Linked DNA regions of Homo sapiens: regions 2 and 3 are each linked to region 1. The links are contacts of gene promoters, found by promoter capture Hi-C in blood cells and fetal thymus (Javierre and others, 2016). All regions are on one chromosome and are shown on one strand. Each heading gives the region's core, a stretch centred on a gene start or on the middle of the fragment in contact. The rest is flanking DNA. Distances are from core to core; before and after follow the strand shown. Region 1 holds the start of LSM6 (LSM6 homolog, U6 small nuclear RNA and mRNA degradation associated). Region 2 overlaps TTC29 (tetratricopeptide repeat domain 29). Region 3 overlaps LOC105377476 (a long non-coding RNA gene).

Region 1 (4,608 bases), core at 1,337-3,836:
GGACTCTTAAAACTCAACAAAAAGAAAGAACAAACTGATTCAAAATTGGGCCAAAGACCTGAACAACCAAAGATATACATATGGCAAATAAGTATATAGAAAGATCCTCCATATCATATGTCACTAGGGAATTACAACTTTAAACAACTATGAGATAGTCACTAAGCAGCTATTAGACTAGTCAAAATCCAAAGGACTGGAAGCACCAAATGCCCATGAGGATGTGGAACAATGGAAACTCTCATTCACTCCTAGTGGGAATGCAAAATGGTACAGCCACATTGTAAGACAGTTTGGCAGTTTCTTACAAAACTAAACATACCCTTGCTATATGATCTAGCAGTCATACTCCTTGATATTTGCCCAAATAAGCTGAAAACTTATTTCTATACAAAAACCTGCATACACATATTCATAGCAGCTTTATTCATAACTTCCCAAACTTGGAAGCAACCAAGATGTCCTTCTGTAGGTAAATGGATAAATAAACTGTGGTACATCCAAATAATGGAATATTATTCAGAACTTAAAAGAAATGAGTTGTCAAGCCATGAAAAGGCGCAGAGGGGTCTTAAATGCATATTTCTAAGTGAAAGAAGCCAGTCTGAACAGGCTACACAGTGGGGTGGTGCAGTGTATGCACCACTAACTGTGTACGGTATGATTCCAAATATATGATATTGTGGAAAAAGGCAAAACTTTGGAGACAGAAAAAAGATCAGCGGTTGCCAGTGGGGAGGAAGGGATAAATAGGTGGAGCACAGAGAATTTTTAGGGCAGTGAAACTATTCTGTATGATACTGTAATTGTGGGTACATTTCATTATGCATTTGTCAAAACCTATAGAATGTGCAACACCAAGAGTGAACCCTAATGTAAACTTTGGCCTTTGGATGATAATGATGTGTCAGTGTAGGTTCATCAGTCCTAACAACTAAATGAAACTAAACTACATAAGTTAAACTAAAGCTTGCCAAAATATTTTTATGACTTTAAGGCTCCTTAATAAATTAATGTTTACATTCAGGGTTTTGAAGACTAGTATTCACCAAAAGTCTTGCAGTGTTTTCTTTGCATCATAAAAGATGCTGAAAGCAAAAACCTGGGAAATACGGAAAATTGCCTTGTGAGTTAGTAAAAGTCATTTATAAGCTGCTGAGGGGCTTTTGGGAACAGCCACACTTTTTATAAGCTTGTTAGCTCATGAATTAATTCAGGATGCCCACCCCGTGTGTCAAACTGGGCCCTTACCCAGCTACTCCCCTTAGAGAAGGTTGCAGCTGCTCAGCAGATGAACTAGGCCCTTAAAACTCCTCATGGCTCCCTACCCACCACACTAGTGTTAACGGCTCGATTAGGGCTCTGTAGGAAAGGGAAAGAAGTTTGAATCAAAAATTTTCTTTTTTTTTTTAATAATTTAAACAATCAGTAAGGAATGTGCAATTTGATGTCGTTTGCAAAGAAAGTTTTTAGGAACAGGGCTTTTTATCCTATTATGTTTGTTCTTTGCACGTAATTATTTGATTTAAATGGTACTTTTCTTAAAATTTTTATTTACATTGTATTTTATATTGCAAGAACTTCAAATACAGCCCTCACAATAAATCAGTAACTGTTCGGTCTTTATCCAAACTGAACTTTTATAGAAGGATATAAGGAAGTCTCTATTCTTTAACAAATCATATCCAGTTGTTTTCTGTCCCTGATATCAATCAAAAGTTCATTTCTTCTGCCTTTAACCAAAAGAAGTTTACAAGGGAGGAACTCTTTATCTTCGAAAAAAATTTTGCATCTTAGATTTTATAACACCTAATGGGGTTAAGGATCTGTGTTGAAAGATCTTATCACTCTGTGTATAGTGTTACAAATCATAAATATAATTAAAGTATAAGTTTTCAACTGATGAGAGTATATGTGGAGGGGGAAAAACGAATCAAGTCCTGGTGTAACAGTTCTCTTCTTTTTCCCTTTCAATTCCATTAATAGAAAGAGTATTGAGAATTCATGCAAAATTCCAAACCAAGTTCCCATAGTAGCACTGAAATAAGTCTGCACACCATTTCCAATAGGAACTAGTAATGTAACACAATTAATGTCATTATAATTTGGAGTTACTTGAGTGATTTTGATTATTTTTGTATCAATTAACATTGCCATGGAAACAGTCTCTTGCTAAAATGGCTTAAGTCTTCACACATTTAATCAATATCCAGAGGTAGATTTAAAGACTTGAGGTGTTTCATTTATTTATTTATTTGCTTTAAACTATTCAAGGACGTTTCTGGGTACACAATGCCGTTACTTAAACAGTAAATTCCAGTTTCCTATGACTTCAAGTTATTTTTTACACTTCTGTAAATAAATCCTGCCCAAAAGATCACTTCTAGTTTCCTGGAATTTTGTTTTTGTTTTGTATTGTATTTGTTTTGTACTCAGATTTCTGTTAGAGGAACTCCACTGCACCAATTTTGCTACTAGACAAACCAGGAATCTTGGATTTGCGCGCTTTGGTGCTGACAGGCTTTTTCGGCCCCAGCGGGCTGCCGTAGCAGAGAAGAGCACTGATTGGCTGAGGCAGAAAAGTGCCCCTGCCTCGGCGCTTTCGGTTTTGGCTGGGATCATCCGCGGCGGCCGGGCTCGTGGGGCGCCTGGAGTGAGGGTTCTGGTTCCCGCCGGCGAGGTGAGCCGCACCGCTGCGCGGGCCGACGACGGGGCCGGGCGCAGCCCCAGGTTCGGTGCCCCAGTGTTCAGTCGCGCTGTGGAGCGGCGGCTGCAGCGGCCCTAGGCCGGGCGAGGCAGCCCCGGAAAGGGCCTGCGGTGAACAGGCTGGGGCTCCGGGAAGGGACCGCTGGGTGGCGGGTCCCCGCGAAATGCCGCGTCCAAGCTCTCCGCGCATGGAATGGCTGGGAGAGGTCTGATGGTGGGCGCCGGGACCGCCCTCAGCGAGGCGCCTAGACTGCGCGGAGAGGAGCGGCACCGTCCCGGCTCCTACCGAGTTGGCGTCCGAGATCAATTCAGGTTGTTGAAGTTCCCCAGGGAGCCCCGACGCTAATCCCAAGATTCGGCGGGAAAGCGGATCCCGAACCCAGGCCTAGGCTTCGCCTGTCTTCCAGGAGGGCTTCAGGGAATTGCGAACCCTCTCCTACATCGGGGTGGCTGCGCCTGACCACAGGAATTAAAGGCTGGACTCGCCTGTCTTACCAAGTTGTCAGGTCGAGGAACCCGATTGTATGGTCTTAAGTCCTATCGCCCAAGGTTTTCTGTGCGTATGCGTGTCCGCACACCTGCATAGCAGGCATTTTTAAGGTGTGTAGGATTAAGATGATGCGGATTACCCTGCCCCACTGCTCTTAGTAATACGTGACTATTGTAGAAAATTGCAAACATAGAAGACTTTAGTGAAGAAAATAATATTCACTGAACCCTTTCACCTACGATCATTTTCTCTTGTATGTGCTAGCTTCTACTTGAACTAAGAGTGTACATGTTTAATCACTTAACAGTGTAGTTTTCCACTTCCATTTAAAAACTCTTCCTAAATATTATTCTAATTTTGTATCTTCTTTTGATTGTCCTATCATTGTGGGTCCCAGTTTAGGTCCCGTAAATTATTCAGTCATTTCCCGATTGTGGGACATTAGATTGTTTTTGAATTTTTACATCATCTTAGCATCCCAGATAGTGCTTTGATAAACTCTTTTCCCCCTATTTTTTAGATTATTTCCTTGGACTAGATTCTCAGAAGTGAAATTATCAGATTAGATGCTGTCATCTGAAAGGTCTGTTTTAGGCCTTCATACACATTGCTGCAGTGTTTTCCAAAAAAGTTTTAGAGATGTTTGGTAATTTTACTTGCTTAAATATTGTGCAGAAATCTTGAGAGGCTTGTGTTTGTGGTGTGTGTGTGTGTGTGTGTGTCACTGGCGTTAATGCGTTAGACTACCTGAATGTTAGGGCAGGAAGAGACTTAAGTGGTCATCTGGCATAACTCCCTTATATTGCAGATGAGGAACCTGGGGCCATGAGAAGTGAAATTATGAGTTATCCAAGTCACACAGCTAATTAAGTAGCAGAGCTGGGATTAGAACTCAGGTTTCCTGCCTCCCAAGTGAGTACTCTGTGCTGTATCAGGCAGTCTCTCACTGAACTGTGGCATAGTAGATACTAGAATTTAAAAATTTGTTTACATCACCTGGGTTATTCTCTCCTTTTAAAAGTGTACTAACAGATTTTAATCATCGGAGAGACCTGTAACACTGAAAAATTGGAAAGTGATCATTTTCATGGCCAAGACTAGAAATCCATTATTTAGAATGGCAACCCCTTCAAGATTTTGACAGTTGTTTTCAGGTTCCCTATATGTTAGAATAAAACACCCCTGATTAATTATAACCTACACTCCATCATTTGGTTAGAATGTAGCTTTTGGTTATCATTTGCGGTACCTTGGAGATTTCTTTAAAACTCCTCACTTTAAAACCAAAGAACAATTTTTTTTATTTTTATTTATTTTTATTTATTTTTTTATTTAGGGCTTATAGCAGAGATTGTCAACTTCCATTGACATTTTGTGCTGGGCAGTCCTTTGTTGTGGAGGGCCGTCCTGTT
Region 2 (4,547 bases), core at 1,143-3,642, 740 kb after region 1:
TAAAAATGCTATTTTTTCCCAAAAGCTAAAATAACAATATAGCATTTTCCTAGCCATATAAATGTATAAAGAGAGAGAAGTTAAAAAGACAAAAAATTTGAGAGTGTTTAAAATGACTTTTTACTTTAAAGCCATATAGAATTATAATGAAAACTGAAAGCATTTTTCTTAATGCTTAGGTTGTTCACAATTATTAGTCATAGTATTGATTAGCAATGATTAAGAATTGGGCTACCAACAGCCATATATGTATTTTGTAAGAAAGATTAGTGAGTTAAGATTTTTAGAATTCTTAATTTATTTTCCATGCACTTCAAAATATAGCAAGAAAGAAGTTTCAATATAAAAAGGTCTTTAAATTTACATGATTTCCAATGAGTTGACTGGTCTCTGGGGGCATCTACTGGAAATTTAGCAAACTGCAGTTACATCATGTAAATTTGGTAACTTTCACTATCCATCCTAATACAGATATTATTTTAATTGATATGCAAATAAGTTGACAAAGAAGATAAATGTAAAGTTATGCATGGTATTCTATCTCATCCATCTGGTAACAGCAAAACATGTAGCTGTCTATGAGATCAGTTAACAAATATTCAACTGTTAAAAATGTAAATAGGGCAGGTGGCATACCATAGATTAACAGTTTTCAAAGCATCCAATTCTTATTTTTGGAAAAATTAGAAAAATATTTTATACTTAAACATTCACATATTTAATGAGAAATTTTTATTAATCCAAATAAAATATATATATAAAGCACTTTTAAATTATGATGGATTCTCTAAAACAAATCATTTTGTATCTCATACATCCACCAATCATAAATAATATGACTACTGCTTATTTTCTATATGATTTAATTTAATTATTACATGTTAACATCTCAAAAAGTAGAATTTATTATACTTGGATCAGAAGAATTTTTCATTATAGTCATTACAACTAGAATTCATCATTAAAATGAACATTGTTATTAATGTCCTCTAAACATTTCAGAACCTCCTTAAAGAATATTGAACATATAATGAACACAATACAATCATTTCAATGTATTATAATTTAACATATTTTAATTAAAAAGCTCTTTTTATAATATTATGTTATGACTAATCATATAATTTAAATATCACAGCCATTATAATGATCTTGATTTTTTTGCAGAATTTATAGACCATATTCACTTTGAGAGATTAAAAATATAATTTGAAAGTATAAATATTGTGATATGCTTATATTTTACCATTATATATTTTATATATTGCTGTAAAATTTATATAATTTATATGTAATTTTTATAAAATGCAATTAGATATTATATACATTATATATTATTTATAATATATAATTAGATATTATATAAATTATATATTATATATTTATATAAAATTATGCATTATATAAATTTTATATTATATTACTTATATTAAATTATATGATACACAATTTATATAAAATTATATATAAAAATTATATAAAATTCTCCTTGTAAAGAGTCACATAACATTTTAGCTTCATTCCAAAGAGATTGTCTAATGCAATATATTAATTTATAATTTTTCTAAAAATTTCTTAGAATTGCTATCCAAATAAATGATTTCATCTTTTATTATATGAACTGAAAAAATTAAGCAATATAAAAATATTACCAAAAAGTCAGAATATAAATATTAATATAGCATTCTGTTTCAGTTTTGATTTAGACTCAATTTAGGTAGATAGGCCAATTTAACAATTTTAAATACATAAATAAAATCTGCCCCCCAGAACATTTTATGGAATAGAATTTTTATGTGATTATCAAAACAGTTACGCGTTTACTAATTTGAACTTTAGACGAAACTGTTACATATGCAAGTTTTGCTTTGTATTTTTGGATTTTTTATCTATTAATAATAAAGAAAAGCATAGTCAGAATTTCAACATTTTAAAAGTATATATACAAATTGAAAAATGCTATTTTGAAAAAACTAACCTAAGTTCAACCTTTATTTTTTAAGAAAAAAACTAGTAATAATTAAGGAATAAAGTTTATCCTCTGGCATTTTGTAAATAGTACTATCACTAATATAACTCAACGAATAATAAAAATATCTAAAAATTTGATCAGTAAAGATTCTCTCAATAGCCTGATAAGAATTCATTTCAACATGGGTGATTATATTTTAGAAGTTATGAAATATTTGTGTAGAATGGGACAGAAATTATTTCACAGATTCTATTTTGATAGAACTGATGTTTTGCATTAAAGGCAGTCACTTTTTGTGAGATCAACAAATGTTTATAAACCAAACTATATTTTCATTGATGATTATTAACAAATATCAGAGGAAAGCATGCTTATTTAGCAAATAGTACAGGACTATAATCTTTACAATAACTTTAGATAATTTCCTTAATAACATAAAGGCATTTTTTATGTGCCCACTTGCTCAAAGTTATTTATTCAAGTGATTCCCATTTAATCAAATATTTCAAGTACAGTAATTGTTATCAACCAGGAATGGATAAACTATTCATCAGACAATAGAAAGTATTACCAAAATAGTTACCCACGGTAGCTGTCGCACAGCACTTCAGCATCATTCATTTTCTTTATCGAAAAACCTCAAACATACACATTTTTAAGACTTAAAAAAATACTGTTTGTTTTAGAAACATTTGTTGATCTCACAAAAAGTAACTGCCTTTAATGAAAACTTCTCTAGTAGTCTGGTAAAAAAGGATTGGAAGAAAAGCTCCTTATATGAGGTTAATTACATATGCAATTTTGATAAAAGTCTTATTACTTCCAAACTCCTTTGAGAAATTCAAACTTTATACAAAATAATTTGTGTAGAAAAATTTTAAGCCAAAGATTCCACATGGAAAGATATTAAATGAGTGTTAAAGGAGAATTTTTCAGGGACAGTATTTTCAAGCCAGGATTACAACACGACTCCAAACACCTTTGGCTAACTGCAGCAAATCATATGGATTCTTGTTCTTTTCTTTCAGATTACACTGTACTTCTCTACTATAGAAAAACCAGTTAAACCTAAGCTGAAAAATAAACCCTGGAAATAATCTTAGCTTTTAAATTGAGTTATAATGATACAAAATAAATTCAAATAAGTAATACAATTCTGGTGTATTATGTGTCCTAATATAACAAGAAGAAACATGAGGAAAAGAGGAGGGAAACAAAAAATGAGCTTCATATCACAGGACTACAAAGAGTGGACTAAATATACATGTAAATATCATCATACTCACTCATCAAATGATCATTTTTGTCTAAATTTGTATTTATAATTTCTATTAACAAAAAACTCCATAGAATATGATATTCACTCTGTTGTGTTCTTCTTTTTAAAACCACCCATCTTCACACTGACACTCTGTTTTTTGAAACATAATTCTATGATACCCTCCACATTTTTTGAAATTTTATTGTTTGGAAAACTTTTTCTCAAATAACATCATTTAAAATTTTCTTTTAGTTTTCTACACAGCATTATAAATAAAAGAACTATCAACTTCCCATATACATTCAGGGAAATATCAAACTTTTATTAAAAATGAAAAGCTGGAGAATATAAAGAACAAACTTAGTAAAAACAAGTTGCATTATAAAGAAAACTTCAGCTCACTGCATTTTTTTTTACTAAAGTATGTCATACATTTTATCTTTGCAAGAATTTGACAAGTTTTGCAAGTAAAATTCTGTTTCCTCTACACTTGCTAATAGTCATGAGAATCTGTAGTTTGCACCTTCCCATTAAAAATGTATTGTATTTTTTGAAATTATTCACCCCGCCTTTTATCCAGATCATGTCTTTGAAAGGAGGAAGTAGATAATAAATGGAATAATTCATGATTCCCCATTAAATATGAAACTTTCTTTTGCAGAGTTTAGAAAATGAAGTTCTACATAATGTACAAAAGTTGATTAGAACTTTTTTAACCTTTTCAAGAAAAAACCTTTCATACTAAACAACTACATGAGGAGCTTTCTCTGAGAAAGGTAAAACAATCAATTCTTTACACCTATAGGTTCGTCATATATATTCTAATGTTGCCCCCTCTAAACATATATTTCCCTATAATACTTTAAACATATTAAAAATAATGGCAAGAAAAATAGTATACATTGAGTTGTAAACATGACAAGTTTTTAAGAGAAATATAACGTTTAAAATACAAAGGGAAAAAAATCACATAAATTAAAAATGAAAACAAAACATTATTCATGCTCTTTTCAGTAATGTAATGGAAGATAGTGTAGGGGTAAATAACAAAAACTGCATGTGTATTTCTCTTACTATGGCATGTCTTCTAGTGAAGTAATGATATTTTGTCATGAGAAAAAAGTATATACACTTATAAAACTTATCTTTTACAAATCAATCATTGGTACTCCATTAACTACACTCTCTTGAGCCCCTTTTTTGATAAAATTTTTAAAAAGAAACCAAATGATTCTTAAGATGACTCCAGTTCTATATTTTTAGATATAAATATTCTATATGTCTTGGGTGAGAAATCTGTATGTCTTGGGTGAG
Region 3 (4,411 bases), core at 645-3,144, 910 kb after region 1:
GCACTGCTGGTGGAGGCAGCAGAGTGAGTCAAATCTCACAAATGACCATCACCAAATTCAACATCCCCAAATTCCTGTGCCCAGTAAATGTGATAACTTTTTCCTAAGATACAATCAAAGGGTAAATAAAATAGAATGCCATCTGTCCTGAAGAATACTTTCCCAGGGTGAGGCTTCTCTAACAGCTTCTGCATTACAGACTATCAAAAGACAGCATTCTGGAACGTTCTGAAAGTAGAGAGGGAGAGAGAGAGCAAATACTGCACAGAGGTGTCAGGATTACTAAGCACTGAAATATTTTTATTTTTATTTTTATTTATGTATTTTTTTGAGACGAAGTCTCACTCTGTTGCCCAAGTTGGAGTGCAGTGGCGTGATCTTGGCTCACTGCAACCTCTGCCTCCCGGGTTCAAGCAATTCTCCTGCCTCAGCCTCCCAAGTAGCTGGACTACAGGCACATACCACCAGGTCTGGCTAATTTTTGTATTTTTAGTAGAGACGGGGTTTTCACCATGTTGGCCAGGCTGGTCTCGAACTCCTGACTTCGTGAGCTGCCCACCTCGGCTTCCCAAAGTGCTGGGATTACAGGCGTGGGCCACCATGGCCAGCCATCTTTATTTCTCAACTATTATTCCACATCAAAGAGAAGTTCACATTTTAACAGAAGATAGACGTAACCTCTGGATGAAACTGCAAGTCTATAGTCTTTAACTGTGTTCATTACCATATTAGGTAATAATGACTATGGACATATAATTATTGATTACTGCTTTTAAAATAACCATGCTATTGAGTAGCCATGAACATAAAACTATGAGGTTATAATAGAAAATAAATTCGGCTCTGAGCATATAAAAATTTCAATTAAAAAAACATACAATAAGAGACACTGTTCCAGAATTACATGTTTTTGGTTGATCTTTCACCATTCATGTTATGCAGCCTTCCGTGCTGCAAAACCTGGCAATGATTAAGAACAACATGCAGCATCGAAATCACAATAATGGCACTGGATATTACAATACTGAAGTGAAACCGAACAGTTTTCATTTCAGATTCCATGATTTGTTAGTCCAGTCATGTGACACGGGACAAGTCACTTTATTTATATTCAGCCTTTTAGTTTATACATTGAACCTCCTGGGCTCCTGTGGGATTGAAAAATGTTGATGACAGAGGGTGTAAGTCTTTATAAACTCTGAGTTTCCAGTTCTGTTTTTAAAACATTGCTTGGATTAAATCAGCAAATTGTACTGTTATTTTGTGACTTTGGAAGGCTGAGCTCTTCATCTCTGCTTTTATTATAACGACTGTTACTAAAACTGACACTCATGACCCCATTACCCACCAGGACGATCAGGCATTCTCTTCAGGTGTGTGTTGTTTTATCACTAAACTTAGTCACTTTACTAAAGTAACTTCAGACGGGCTTTAGATTTGAGGGCAGGCTGTAAAACTAACAAGAAAAAAGGAAAATTTAAAGATATGGACACAGAGTGATGGGTTGCCTTCCTAATCATGTATTCAGAGGCTGAAAGCCCAGAGAACCTGGGCAATTGCTAACCTGCAGTATCTGGAGCAACCAGCAATCTAATGTGAAATTCCTTTCATCTTCCCTCCACACTCCTGTGAAAACCAGGAGGATTTCTGAGAGGCACAGAGATTCTCAATCGTTGCAACGAGGCAGCTTTCTTGTAGTGTGAGTTCATGAGAGGAAGGGCAATTTCATGTTAAACATACACACAAGATGACAGGGAAGGGGGCGAGCTGATAGCCCAAAATACATATGCAAACCCTCCCTTGGAAGCTTGCTTTTCACTCTCTTGTACAAAGTCAATGGAAACCAAGGAACTACCATTCCAGAATTGTCGCCTGCTTTAATCCTTAATAACCAAATAAAAATGGGCAGCCCGTATTCGGGAGCAGCTCTAGCAAGCAGACCTCTAGGAAACAAGGCTCCCTGCAGACTTTCCCTTGATCTTAAAGCTTAACTTGAAACATTTATATGCACGGAGCACCTGGCCAGGAGATGTGAGAAGGCCTTTTTTTTTTTTTCTTTTTTTCACCTTGGCTCCATTTCTTTCTTTAATAATAAATTCTCAGTTTTCTTTTTTCCCTTCTTGGAAACTGATTCCACTCTAAATAATGTTTTTTGTTCTTTCTTAATAGTTTAAGAAAAGCAAGACAAACTTGAAAACCCCCCATTAACATCCATCAGGCTCCCCGCCTGCCGATCGGTATCATCTTCACTTTAGGAAAGATGAAGCAGAAAGTCAGTGTAGGTTAATTCCAATCAGGTTGAGAACTTCTTTTGTTTGAATTCAAAGGGCTCAGGTTAACCTATTATGCAATTTAGTACCAACTGGCTGCACAAATCTTCTTTCACATACCTTGCTGGGTGAAGAAGTGATGAGTGCAGAAACTTGTTCTGACTGCACCAGTTTAAATACGCAGGTGTTTGAATTATGGTCAGAAGTTTAACAGAGGAGGAAAGCTCATATCTGTCCTACAATGGTAACACCATCTGAGTCACATCCTCAACAAGGTTATAATGCATTTAATGGTAAAAAATATACACAGAGTCTGATATAAAGACTTTCCCTCAAATCGGGTCAAAACTAGGACAGATGCTTTATAGTTATTTTGAAATAAATGTATGTAAAGAAGGGAGTACCAGCTCATGAGTATCACCAGCCTCTCTCCTCCTTTCTTTCTTCCGTCTTTCATTCCTTCTTTCCTGCACATTTTGATTTCACAAAAGAATTTAAAGCATACCTGAAGACACACACTACACAGGATATAATAAATAGCTGAAATTGGAGCAAAAAAGAAAATAGACAAGAAAACTAATGCTGAAGGAAATATTCCAAAATATATATAAATGCAAACCATTCACTCCTGTATGGTTGCTGGAAAGTGGAAGGTGGAACTTTGGCTGGATGGATGCCCTGACTCTAGTCCAGTCCCCAGCACCAATGCTCAAGAGATGCCCAATTCATCTCCTCAACTCCCACCTAGCCCTCCTCTAATCTCAGTCTCCATACCTGAGTGATACCTCTAAAAAGCAAATCAGATGAGGTCTTATCATTGCTTCAACATGTTAATGACTGCCCCCTATACATAAGATAAAGTCAGAATTCCTCAGTGTAGCTTATAATACTAGCCTGACCCGGCACCTCACTGCTGTCCACCTCTCTGGCAGTCTCAGCACCCCACCAGCTACTCTGCCCTCTGGTCACACCAGACCTCGTTCAACAATTCAAATATGTCCTTTCCTGCACAGTTTTTTCAGTGAGGCTCCTCTGCCTCTCCACCAGCTGAACTTGCACTTAAACTTCCTCCAGTTCTGGGTCATGCTCCTCAGACTGGAGTAGGTGCTCCCGAAGCATGTTCCCACCTGTCCTTCCTCGTCACAGCACCTGTCACACTTCATTATTTACTTACCAGCTTGCTTTTGCTGTTTGAGAATGCACTCTTGGAGAGTTCGAGCTGGGTCTAGGTTGCTCCTTATTTCCAGCATCTATCAGAGTGCCTGACATATCACTACTGCTTACCGATACATTATTGTTGTCACATGCATAAATCATAACAACTGACATTAATTAAACATTCACCATGGGCTAAAAAAGATGCACCATGTTTTACCTTCTTTATCTTTGTAGAAAAAAACATTTATTCTTCAAAATAAAGCCATTATCTTTCTTCATAGTAAAGCTATGAGGTACGTTATTATTATCTTCATTTTACAGATAAGGAAACTGAACCTGCAAGCTCAGACAAATGCTTCCCAACAGCCTAAGCAATAAACAGACAATGTTCAGTTACAAAATTTATAGTGGAAAAAATTCACAATTGTTGGGGAGAAACATGATTTTTCGCAGATCATAAAACTTAAAATATTAATTCCCATGAGTTATGTGAAAGCATTCGCCAATGGCCTGATTGTATGGATGGCAGCCTGCAGAATCCCTACAGTGAACAAAGTAACAGGCTTTATAAGGCCCCTTGCTAGTGTCTCTCAATACAAGCAATAGCACAACACGAAAGCACAATTCACCAGGCTCCAGCCTACACCAGGCAAAACACACAGCTCTCCTGTGGCCTGGCTTAAACCAAGGGGTTATTTAATTTTGCCAAAATCAAACCTAGCAAATATTCATGTTGTGACTTTGAGATCATTTTCCCCCTGAGAAGAGGGAGGAAAAGGAGAGTCCATAAGAAGAAAAGGCAAGGACTAGAGACTTACTCTGAAGAGAAGGGTGACACAGGTCTGCATAGGAGCTGCCTTTGCCAGCATAGTCTTCCTGACTAATTTCTGAAAAGACATGCTGACCTGGGCCTGACGCTTCCTCCGCCACCTGGAGGCTTTGGTCTCAGTAGCTCTAGGAGCCTTTCTGCTCTCATGGGCCCT

What was found. Contacts are between HindIII fragments. The CHiCAGO score rates a contact against its expected background, and 5 or more counts as called.
Region 2: a contact is called between a fragment that was not itself captured here and the fragment with the promoter of LSM6 in region 1, in 1 of 17 cell types (M2 macrophages). The highest score is 6.3, in M2 macrophages.
Region 3: a contact is called between a fragment that was not itself captured here and the fragment with the promoter of LSM6 in region 1, in 1 of 17 cell types (total CD4 T cells). The highest score is 5.3, in total CD4 T cells.

What each region holds. Positions count from the first base shown.
Region 1 is chr4:146,173,132-146,177,739 of GRCh38, forward strand. It overlaps LSM6 (LSM6 homolog, U6 small nuclear RNA and mRNA degradation associated), which reads left to right and starts at 2,587. Exons shown (of 4, transcript NM_007080.3): 1 at 2,587-2,680. RefSeq lists a silencer at 2,737-2,796. The HindIII fragment of the contact is 3,935 bases long and covers 1,191-4,608 here.
Region 2 is chr4:146,916,270-146,920,816 of GRCh38, forward strand. The region is part of intron 4 of TTC29 (tetratricopeptide repeat domain 29); the gene reads right to left. Among named protein-coding and RNA genes, the nearest start is that of TTC29-AS1, 15 kb to the right of the region's middle. The HindIII fragment of the contact is 5,699 bases long and covers 1-4,547 here.
Region 3 is chr4:147,087,292-147,091,702 of GRCh38, forward strand. The region is part of intron 2 of LOC105377476 (a long non-coding RNA gene); the gene reads left to right. Among named protein-coding and RNA genes, the nearest start is that of TTC29, 140 kb to the left of the region's middle. The HindIII fragment of the contact is 179 bases long and covers 1,806-1,984 here.